Linked DNA regions of Homo sapiens: all the other regions are linked to region 2. Evidence: promoter capture Hi-C in 16 types of primary human blood cells and fetal thymus (Javierre and others, 2016). All regions are on one chromosome and are shown on one strand. Each heading gives the region's core, a stretch centred on a gene start or on the middle of the fragment in contact. The rest is flanking DNA. Distances are from core to core; before and after follow the strand shown. Region 1 overlaps KCNJ2-AS1 (KCNJ2 antisense RNA 1). Region 2 holds the start of ABCA5 (ATP binding cassette subfamily A member 5). Region 3 holds the start of PRKAR1A (protein kinase cAMP-dependent type I regulatory subunit alpha). Region 4 has its middle 140 kb from the start of LINC01482.

Evidence for each region. Contacts are between HindIII fragments. The CHiCAGO score rates a contact against its expected background, and 5 or more counts as called.
Region 1: a fragment that was not itself captured here is called in contact with the fragment with the promoter of ABCA5 in region 2 in 1 of 17 cell types (total B cells); the score reaches 7.6 in total B cells.
Region 3: a contact is called between the fragment with the promoter of PRKAR1A here and the fragment with the promoter of ABCA5 in region 2, in 1 of 17 cell types (erythroblasts). The highest score is 7.1, in erythroblasts.
Region 4: a fragment that was not itself captured here is called in contact with the fragment with the promoter of ABCA5 in region 2 in 1 of 17 cell types (total B cells); the score reaches 5.6 in total B cells.

What each region holds. Positions count from the first base shown.
Region 1 is chr17:70,166,170-70,168,869 of GRCh38, forward strand. KCNJ2-AS1 (KCNJ2 antisense RNA 1) reads right to left here. Exons shown (of 1, transcript NR_036534.1): 1 at 792-2,700. Among named protein-coding and RNA genes, the nearest start is that of KCNJ2-AS1, 1.9 kb to the right of the region's middle. The HindIII fragment of the contact is 530 bases long and covers 1,079-1,608 here.
Region 2 is chr17:69,325,696-69,328,395 of GRCh38, forward strand. ABCA5 (ATP binding cassette subfamily A member 5) reads right to left here and starts at 1,438. Exons shown (of 39, transcript NM_172232.4): 1 at 1,357-1,438. RefSeq lists silencers at 1,125-1,214, 1,345-1,724 and an enhancer at 1,805-1,944. The HindIII fragment of the contact is 4,188 bases long and covers 1-2,700 here.
Region 3 is chr17:68,511,107-68,513,806 of GRCh38, forward strand. It overlaps PRKAR1A (protein kinase cAMP-dependent type I regulatory subunit alpha), which reads left to right and starts at 1,324. Exons shown (of 11, transcript NM_002734.5): 1 at 1,324-1,442. RefSeq lists silencers at 505-864, 1,285-1,794 and enhancers at 798-1,371, 1,125-1,214. The HindIII fragment of the contact is 13,629 bases long and covers 1-2,700 here.
Region 4 is chr17:68,770,942-68,773,641 of GRCh38, forward strand. No RefSeq gene overlaps it. Among named protein-coding and RNA genes, the nearest start is that of LINC01482, 140 kb to the left of the region's middle. The HindIII fragment of the contact is 159 bases long and covers 1,179-1,337 here.

The sequences.
Region 1 (2,700 bases), core at 94-2,593, 840 kb after region 2:
ACTTCTGCCTTGTTCATCTTCTCAGTTAGACATTTTGAACTCTTAAGAAGAGGAATTACTCCCGCTAGGACACTTCTGTCTTTCATCTCACCTAGCATATAGCCAAAGTACAACGTAGTTATTTCAACAAATACGTTCACTGAATTTAAAAATATGAAGATTAAATATTATCAATGCAGTAAGTGAAACTAAAGGCCAAAACTGTTTTCCAATAAATAAGATTACATACAGTGCCTTAAAATACCACAGTAAGTGGCTTGTTCTCATAGCAGCAGATTGCAAACTCAGCCTGTCTACATTTCCGGGCAATCTGACAATGATTTATTTACTATTTATTGCTAATGATGATTACTTTGAAGATTAGAAAGTGGTTTTTAATATCCAGTGGATACAAATGCCAGGAGCGTTTGATGTTTTACCATTGTGAATTTGAACTGCATATACATGGTTAATGTAAGTCTGAAAGTATGTCTAATTGTTGGGGATCTTTATATAAATGCAAAGGAAAGATCTGTGCTTCTAGTGAAACAATCACCTTCTGCGTCACACAGCTATTCACAATCTGACTGCAGATCCAGATTGTGACTAATATTTGGCTCTAATATTATAGGTGGTTACCGTGGAGAGAATCAGTAAGAGCATAATTGTCATTTCCTTGGAAAAATTTAATCCACAGATGGATCCCAACACCCAATTGCATTCGTGTCCAAGACTAATGGGGATTTTTGCTAAATAAGGCCTGATTCAGCCAAAAAAGATAGACTCTGAATACAGAAATCTGCATCACGCATCACTTCAAAAGATGTATTAAATCAAACACTGAAAGCATTGGCACACAGAATTTTCCTAATAGGGACATGATGAAAAGTCATTTATTAATTAAAATGCATTTATATTTTCTTTTTTTAAAATGAAGCAATGGGGGTATTCTACGCTACCATACATTTACAAAATTTCATTTGCAAAATTTCATCCTTCATACTTCCTTATTTAGCTAATTAAGGTAATGATTCTACTTAGATTGGAAAGTTCTAATTAAAATCATTAATTTTTCCCGAACCTTCTCCTTCAAGATCTAAGCTTTGCTGCACATCCTTCAGTCTTTGGGAGGAGAGAATGTTGGGGGATGTGCTGCTGATAATTGATGAGAGAGAGCAGGATACATTTATTATGACCTTCCTCCCGCTGCCCAGCTAAATTTATACAGCCAACCATAATCTAATAACTCTGTGTTCCTTTCTTTAAAGATTTTCCTATCATATGAAACTATTTCGGCCTGTGGTGTATTCTTTCTAATTAGAGTAGAATACTAAAGCAAAACCATTTCAATCCAAGTTGCATAAAAATGCCATCCCTTTCCGAGTGACTGGTTTTCAAAGCGAGCTCATTACCTGGAAAAACAACAACAACAAAAGTGTTGCCTCTCTGAATTCACGTGGTTTGGAAAATTCTTAGCCATCTACAGATGCACCAACTGAATCATAATAAAGAAGAGAAAATCTATAAATGATTAATTTCCTTTTTCTATTTAGGCTTAACATGTTTTAAGGGATAATTAAACTTTTGGCCTGTTTCTTAGAAGTCCAGGAGGAAGCATATTTCAGAAGAAGCTTATTGAACTGAGCGGTGAACTCATTCATTATCCTTTGGTTAATACAGAGTGAACTTGTCTACCCTCAGGTTCATTTAGCTTTAGGCTACAGCCTAGATTCTTAGACATCCGTCTATTTTACAGTATTAATTCAAGCTGTTTATAAATAACACATGACTAAATAGATGTTAAAGAAGACCTCCCTTGGGGCAGGCATTATTCCCACGTGCATGGCAACAGAGTTCGTAACAGGGCTTGGTGAACAGTATAATCTCAACACATTAACTGGGACCACATCGCCATTTGGCTATCAGAGCAGCCACACCGAGTGCATCATCTCTTGCACACCCTTTTAATTTAAGTACCTTGCTCAGTGCTAAGAAAAAAGGCACACTTGTTAAGGCAGGAGTAAGTGCGGATCTGCGAAACCTAAGCAAGCATATTTCACCAGCACCTCCTAGGGGCCACGTGTGGATATGAGGATGGGAGGTGGGGACTCGCACAGAACCTTTCCTTGAATTGTCAGTTTCACCTCTCCTACACACAAAAATCCACCCCGACTGCGCCGTCCACAATACCAGCTAGTTTGCTGAATTAGTTCAGCGACTCAAGGAGGCCTTACGAGGTTTAAATAAACTGCACAAAAGACACATTTGATCGCTCGAGAAAATAAACATTTAAAAAACTCAGTGGAAAGAAAGACTCCTAAAATATATCCTGTCCTTTAGGAGCAAAGCTTCGTTAGGACACCGAAGTACTCAGAAATAATAGGCACTTACTCTTCGGTTTACACACACACACACACACACACACACGGATTAGTTTATAAAGTTCCAGGATCCAGACCCGGTTAACACTGAAGTTGCTTTTTAGGGGTCTGCGCGCTCTCGCCTGGCTGCTGGGAAGGAGGGCTGGGAGGCGCTGAAGCGAGGGCAGATCTGAGTGTCTGTAGGAGTTGCTATTCCAAAAAAAATCATTACTCTCTAATTGTTCTGATTTTAGATCAGCAAAGCGTGCCGGGCGGTGGTGGAGAGACTGAGGGCGGACAAGGCGAGAGGGAACGAGCCGTCCACCCTTCGGAGAAGCCTAGGCGCCTTGTAAGTAATTCG
Region 2 (2,700 bases), core at 188-2,687:
TACCTGGGCGCAGTGACACACGCCTGTAGCCCCAGCTATTCAGCAGGGTCCCTAGAGTCCAGACGTTCAAGGCTGCAGTGAACTTTGATCGCACCACTGCACTCTAGCCCGAGACGCTGTCTCTTTAAAAATAAAAGACATGCAATACACATGGAATGTACTAATAAATTTGCTCTTATAGTGAATGTAAGATTTCCCTACACTAAATCTGTTTGAAAGGAAATATACTCAAACAGCACATATGCAAAGATTAACGCCTCTTTAGTTTGATTTTAACACAAATACCCACAAAGCCCTAACTGCCCTAATAATGTTCCCTACTATGGAGTCTTCCCTAAAACACATACAATATTGCTCTCCCGGCAAACACAAAATATACTAAATAAAGCACCAGAATTAGGGTCTGGCAGCCCGGGTTGGAATCTCAACTCCATCCTTTTACTAGCTGAGACCTTAATAAGTTACTTAACCTCTTTGAGGCCCATTCTCCACACCTGCCCAACTGGAATAACCCCCTCCAATCCTACAGGGTTGCTGTCAGAATGAAAAGAGCTAATACCGAGCCTGGCTTAAAGCTGTAGTCCAGCAAATACTCCTCTTCCCTTAGATTCCTTCAGAACGCCCTTGTAGAAAGTAAACGTGGTTATTATCTTCATTATTTTCGGACTTATTTATTTAAAACGTAAATCGAAGCCTGAGGAGCCCAGGGGAAAACCTCCTTCAGCTTAATAGCTCCAGCCTGCCCAGCTTTCCGATCCAATTAAGTATTTCCATGCCTGGAGCTCCTATTCGTGTTTTAGGATCAGGGAATTTCCCTCCCAAACTGTGTCATGAGATCTGCGCATTTTCTTCTCACTGAAACTCCTTTTAACACGCAAGGTAATGATCCGCGCGTAACCTCGCAGGGAAGAGCAAGCGCTCATTACCCAGCTGTTCAGACGGAAATTTACATCAATATTTGTTTTCCTTCTTTCCCTGAGGTTGCTGAGGGTGGAACGACAGCGTCCAGGCAAAGGCAGTGTCCCGAAGTCCCACGGCCGGACCCGGTCCCAGGGGAGCCTCGCGGAGCCCCCGCCGCAGGGCCCCGACCCCCTCACGTCCGCATCCTGGGCGCTCCCACCGCATCCCCGAGGCTGGCAACCCGCGCTTCCCGGGAGCTGAGGGAGGTCTGTTTCCCTCAGCTCGCCGCCTCTGCCCGCTTCCGAGCCCGCTTCACCCCACACCTCAGACGCCGAACTCCCCTTCTCTCCCCGCCGTCCCTCGCTGGCCAGCCCCTCCTCGTCCCCTCAACTCCCCCAGGGACGGCTGTCCCAGGCTAGCCTCAAGCGCCGCCGCCGCCCGCGACGCCCGCCTCACCTCAGGGCCCGAGCCGCAGAGCTGTCAGGCCTGGACGCGCTCAGTCTGTTGACTCAGTGCGGGTGACCCAGCTGGGATCTGTGCGAGGGCGCGGCCGCGCGCACCCGCGCGCTCCTGGCGCAGGCAGAGCTGGCGGCGCCGAAGTCGCGCCCCGCCTCCTGCAGAGCGCACCTGAGGGCGGGGCTCCTAGAAAGCGCCGCTCCGCGTACGGGCGCGCTTCAGACGCTCGGCCCCGCGCGTCCCGGCGCACGCAGGCAAGCAGCGCGCCCGGAAGAGGAGAGCGGCTGAGGGTGGGGCGAGCGGTGGCGCGCCGCTGCCCAGGGCCCCTGAGCCACTAGAGTCGGGCCTCGTGGCTCTTCCCCAGGGCCTCCCACGCCTGGGTTCTGCGGGGATCTCGCCACGCTCTTTCTGGAGGCACGGGCAAAAACCACGGCCTCGTGTCTCAGTGGTAAACCTGCCGCCTCTTAGCGGGTGACCTTGGCCCACGGCCCTCTCCTCATCTGCCTCGCCCAGTCACGTCTCCTCTTAAGCATCCTTGCCGTCTGTCTCCTGGCATTTGGATGGGCCTCTCTGAACGCGTTTTGAGTCCTCTGCAGCCCCGCTTCCTCCCGCCGCGGCATCTGGAGTGCTGTGGCCCCGTTTCCGTAACTCTTGCCTCCCCTCCCCAGCCTCCTCATTGGCCCTCACACCCCGACCTGGGAGGTCCTCCCACTGAGGGTGCTTGTAGTTCGCGGAGTGTCCTCATCAAAGACTGGGAATGCGGCAGATGCTGAATTTTCCAAACGGCCTGAGACACATGACATCTGTGAGAGACTGGATACTGCACTTACTTTGCTAAAAATATAATCTAGTGTTTTGAGCTTCATTACTCAAAGTGACCTAAATGGGGTCAAAAGTTATTAACACTAACATTACGTATTTTCCTCTCCACATTTCTGTATAGTCACATTCCCTTGCACAAAGACTTTTTTTTTATTCTGTCAATCCTGTGTACATCATGTTTTTTTTTTTTACTTGTCTTTGTGTTATCTGCTTCTCGAATTTAAACCAGGTCTCCCCAACATGCACTCTGCTTTCTAAATTCTTAGGGGAAAAACAAACAAACAAGGAATCAAGTTTTACTTATGGAATATGAATTAAATAGAAAATTCAAAGAGGTTCGTCAGAATCCTTGATGATTAAAACAGCGGTCCCCAACCTTTTGGGCACCAGGGACCAGTTTCATGGAAGACAGTTTTTTCTGGGGGAGGGAGGATGGTTTGGGGATGATTCAAGCACATTATATTTACTGTGCACTTTATTTCTACTGTTACTACACTGTAATATGTAATGAAATAATTATAC
Region 3 (2,700 bases), core at 74-2,573, 810 kb before region 2:
TTCATGATTTACTTTAAACATACAGCCCTTGAAGTATATACAATGTTACTACAACAGCTCCTGGACACTTGCATATGTGTGTATTTTGCTTTTTTGTATTGTGTTGAATCCATTATGAATTTTAAGCACACGGCCCTAGAAATATATACAATGCTACTAAAGCAGCCCCTAGCCAGACACTTGGACATGTTTCCTTGATGGGCCTTCTTTATTGAGTTACAGACTTGATGTGTCTAAAATTGTACCGTCTCCCTTTTCTTCCTCCTTAGACAGATACTCTGATGGAAAAAAAAAATGGCTGAAAGAGTAAAGTCGCTTTTCCTCCGAATTTTCCCCATTAGTGCAGCTTGTCTGGACAGCTGCGATTTCTTGTTGGGTCACAGGGCATTTTTGACAATCTGCACGCTCTGCACTTCTCCCTCTGTGAGGTCAGGAGTGATGGGGGGGCACTTCAGGTTCTAGAAGGACTCAGGCCTCCTCTTGGACCCTGACAAAGTCCTTTCCCGTGCCTGGTTTCCACAGGGACGGTGTTGCCTGCACAGACGACAGCACCCCCGGCGGGGGAGAGCGGCCCCAGCGGAGACTCGGCAGGGCTCAGGTTTCCTGGACCGGATGACTGACCTGAGCCCGGGGCCCGGGCGGCGCTGGCCGGGCACAGGATGCGCGGCCCGGAGAGCGCATCCCGGCCATCCGCCCGCGCTCGGCCCCGCAGCGCAGCTGCTGCAGATCCGCGGGGGCCGCCACCTCCTCCGGGGGCTGGCAGCGACAGGACTCTCCCCGCCCCGGCCCGGGGCCCTCCCTTGCAGGGGCTGCGGGGAGGAGTCGCCCACCTGTCATCTGAGACGCCCCACGTGGGTCGGCCAGGGAGGGGGTGGAAAGGAGGGAGAAAAGGCAGAGGCGTCAAGGGAGGCCGGAGGGAGAGTGGGGTGGACAGAGGAGCGGAGGGACGAGAGGGAAGCGCACGATAGCTGCGCGGAGAGAGAGCGAAGAGCAGGCGGAGGAACAAAGGCGACCCAAGACACCCAGAGAGGGACAGGTAAGGAGGGGCAGGTGAGCAGGAAGGAGGAGAGAACCGGGCTAGGGAGACTGCGGAAAGGAGAAGTGGCGGGCGTGAGGAAACTGCTGTGGATAAGGGACGAGTAAGATGGAAAGAATGGCGGAAGACGAACGACCGCAGAGTGAGGGTCCTTCCAAGAGCGACCAGGGGGGAGGAACTGGGGCTGTTGCGCCCTTAAGGTTGCTAAGGCGACGGTTCTGGCCAGAGCGAGGCGCATTGACGTCAGTAGCCGAACGCTGATTGGCTGCGGCCAGGCCGTTTCCGGTGGAGCTGTCGCCTAGCCGCTATCGCAGAGTGGAGCGGGGCTGGGAGCAAAGCGCTGAGGGAGCTCGGTACGCCGCCGCCTCGCACCCGCAGCCTCGCGCCCGCCGCCGCCCGTCCCCAGGTGAGTGGGGTCGGCCGGGGGCTCAGGCGAGGTGAGCTTCGTCGCTTCGCAGCCGGTTTGCGGGAGCTGGACCGATCCAAGATGGCGTCACGGGGAGCGACCTGCAGGGGGACGGCCGCACCCCCTGCCCCTCCCCGGCCCGGCGGGCGCCTCCCCGCAGGCCTCACGCCCCCGGCTCCGAGTCTGCATCCTCAAGGCCGTCTGGGCGTTGGCTTTGGTGCGGGGCTCCCCAGCCGCCCCGCTCGCGCTCGCTGCCCCCACCCCACGGCTCCTGGGGCCCTGGGCCCTCCGCGGCCCTCCCCGGCCGCCTTCGCCCCCGCGCGCCGCGGCCTCTTCGCTCACCCTCCCCCATTTCCTGAAGGACAACGGCTCTATTTTACTGGGGTCCGCCATCGTCTCGTCCGCCGGTCCTGGCTCTTCTTGTAAGCCGGTAGTTTTCCTCTCCACTTTTGACGACTCGTCATTGCTAGCAGTAGCCTTTCCTCTTCATAGCGGAGTGATCTTTCCCCCAACACGACGGTCTTAGTCGGGCTCCTGAATTTCCTCTTGTCCCCTTTCACCTCTCTCCCTTTCCCAATTTTGCCCCCCTGAGGCCTCCTCGCCACCACTGTGGCCTTCCGACTGGCGTAGCTTGAAGTCTCGGCTTCCCTTCATTTTGTGGTCATGACCGTGGCCTACGTGAAGTGAAGGGCATTTTCCTGCCCTTCTTCTAGAAAATACACGGTACCTATTAACCTCTTCAGCTCAGAGCCTGTGGTGACGACCGTCCTACTCCTTGAGAGATTCCCAAGAGATCCGTCTTTTTAGCAGAGCGAGGAAAGCAAACACTTACTCAAGATGACCCTAGGGGAGCCGTAACTTGGCTGGTCTAAGGGGGTGCGGTCTGAATCAGGAACAGTTTCTCAAAGTGTTTTTATTTATTTCCCAGAATGTAATCCTTTCGAAACAATTTTGTCACAACTGAATTTTCAAAAGAATGAATCTGAGTGTTTTGTTTTACATAGAGACAATGCAGCGAAAGTTTTAAAGCAGTTAAATAATTGTGTGTGGGGAGGGAAGGCTAGGTTGTTGGGCTTTACAAATAAGTACACATAGAGAATCCGGGTAACTCGATTAAAAATATTAAGACTGTGAAGTCTGGTTATTCAGGGATTTACATGGTGACTGCATTAATTTTGGTACATTTCTGTTCGTATACTGTCCTATTACCGGTGGCTATCTTTTTGGTTTTCGTAATACATTAGTTGTTTCAAACAAA
Region 4 (2,700 bases), core at 8-2,507, 550 kb before region 2:
AACAGTGTAAAAGTGTTCCTGTTTCTCCACATCCTCTCCAGCACCTGTTGTTTCCTGACTTTTTAATGATCGCCATACTAACTGGTGTGAGGTGGTATCTCATTGTGGTTTTGATTTGCATTTCTCTGACGGCCAGTGATGGTGAGCATTTTTTCATGTGTCTGTTGGCCGCATAAATGTCTTCTTTTGAGAAGTGTCTGTTCATATCCTTTGCCCACTTTTTGATGGGGTTGTTTGATTTTTTCTTGTAAATTTGTATAAGTTCTTTGTAGATTCTGGATATTAGCCCTTTGTCAGTTGGGTAGATTGTAAAAATTTTCTCCCATTCTGTAGGTTGCCTGTTCACTCTGATGGTAGTTTCTTTTGCTATGCAGAGACATAGCTTCTTATTTTCTATACAGGACCTGGAAGGAAAACCTGAAAAACCCATGACACTCCCTTTCCTGTTAGCTGTGTGGTGTTATGAAATGGACTGACAGGATTTAGCTTTCCCAGCACCACTGAAGGACCCTCAGCAACTTCAAGTTCAAAATGTCCTCACCTTCGCCTGATTTTGGGAAGTATTGCATCAACACGTTTTTGCAAAAAGAATGGAACTTTAAAATTTTTTCTTGGCGTTCTCTTTCTCTTTATACATGAGCAATAAATGTGTGCAGAAGTCATTCTAGCCAACAAGATTGTCAGGCCGAGACGGGCAGATCACGAGGTCAGGAGATCGAGACCATCCTGGCTAACACGGTGAAACCCCGTCTCTACTAAAAATACAAAAATTAGCCGGGCATGGTGGCGCGCGCCTGTAGTCCCAGCTACACGGGAGGCTGAGGCAGGAGAATGGCGTGAACCCGGGAGGCGGAGCTTGCAGTGAGTCGAGATCGCGCCACCGCACTCCAGCCTGGGCGACAGAGCGAAACTCCGTCTCAAAAAAAAAATAAATAAATAAAATAAAATAAAAAATAAAAAAAAAAAGATTGTCACCAGCTGTATTAACCTAAAAGTAGAGGAAGAATGAAGAATCCCTGAAAATCACATGTGCTGTGCTGCTGAGTGATGGCCTTTAAAACGTTGAGATTCATACGCCCTGTAGAGGGCAATGTTTCCCCTTGCCTAAAATGTTTTCACTATTCGAAAAGCATCAGTAAGTCCAAGGAGCGACATCCCAAGAGGGCAGAAATTAAGAAAGCTTTCTGGGTTCAGTATTGACTGTAAATGCCCACTGGAGAGGAGAAATCATCGATGATAGCCTTGACTATTGCTAGAATCTCTTCCTTTAGATTCCTGGGGCTAGAGTTGAGGATTTCACTTTAAGAAAGATTGAGACAGAGTGAAAGCAAGAGAGAAGCTTGTAAGAAGAAGTGGGAGGATGTTAACAGTGAGAGCTGGGAATTTGCTCATGAGGCCGAGTGGCTACCACAATCTCCAGTACAGGCTGAATGTGTGTCGTTCCATTCCGCTTCTACCCTCTGTAAGAGGCCTGCCCTGTTCACAAGGCCAATAAGGGGTTAGATTTTAAGGCTTGTTGAAAATAAACTTTGGTAATCCCAGTGCTTAGAGCCCAGTGACATAGAAAGGAGAGCCTTCTTCAACTTTTGGAGAGCAAACTTCTAGGGGGATGAGGTGGGAAGTTTACTTGGGGGAATCCTGCCCAGGGCATCACCTCAGCTTTCTGATCCTTGGTTTTTTTTTTTCCAGGATCCCAAAGAGAGGCACAAATGGTGTGTCCAAGCTTCAGATTGAACTCCTCTGAGACTTTTCTCTTCTCCATAATCATAGCTAGATGAACAGAAGGATGTGGCCACCACAAATTCAATGAATGTGTATACCTTTAGAATATTTGTGATTACACAAGTCCCTAGAGGCAGGTGGGGGCAAAGACTTCTTTGTAAAAGTCCAAAGGTGTCTTAGAAATGTGCAAAAGTACAAGACTTACTGAGGTACAGAAAGCAATGGCTCTTATTTTCAAAGGGAGCCCAAGAAAAGTTCTTTGAATTTTTCGTCTGGCCCTTTTACTTTTCAAATTTCTTATTTTGTCACACTTTGTGGTTGTAGCAATTTGTGAACAGAAAGCATCTCATCCTTTGCTCAGCATGGGCAGAAGGGACAATGAGCACCTCCTTGGTTGCATGTAGATTTTTCCATAGCAGAGTGAAAAAAGATTGGAAAAATTTGTTCCAGCATCCTTGCATGGAAGTAAAGACTTCCCATGAAACCAAAAGTATAGTTTCTCTCTGACATCTCTTGAAATAAACACTTCTTAGTCAGAACTATCCCCCCATAGATGGCACTTTAGGTTGGGCCAAAAATGGTAGAAAGGATATGGGATCTCTGCTTCCAACAGCATTTGACAATTATTCTACTAGAAAAACACATGCACAGTATGTTGATTGCAGCACTATTTACAATAGCAAAGACTTGGAACCAACCGAAATGCCCATCAATGATAGACTGGATAAAGAGAATGTGGCACATGTACACCATAGAATATTATGCAGCCATAAAAAAGAATGAGTTCATGTCCTTTACAGGGACATGGTTGAAGCTGGAAGCCATCATCCTCAGCAAACTAACACAGAAACAGAAAACCAAATACTGCATGTCCTCACTCATAAGTGGGAGTTGAACAATGAGAACACATGGACACAGGGAGGGGAACATCACACACAGGGACCTGGCGGGGTTGGGGGGCAAGGGTAGGGAGAGAGA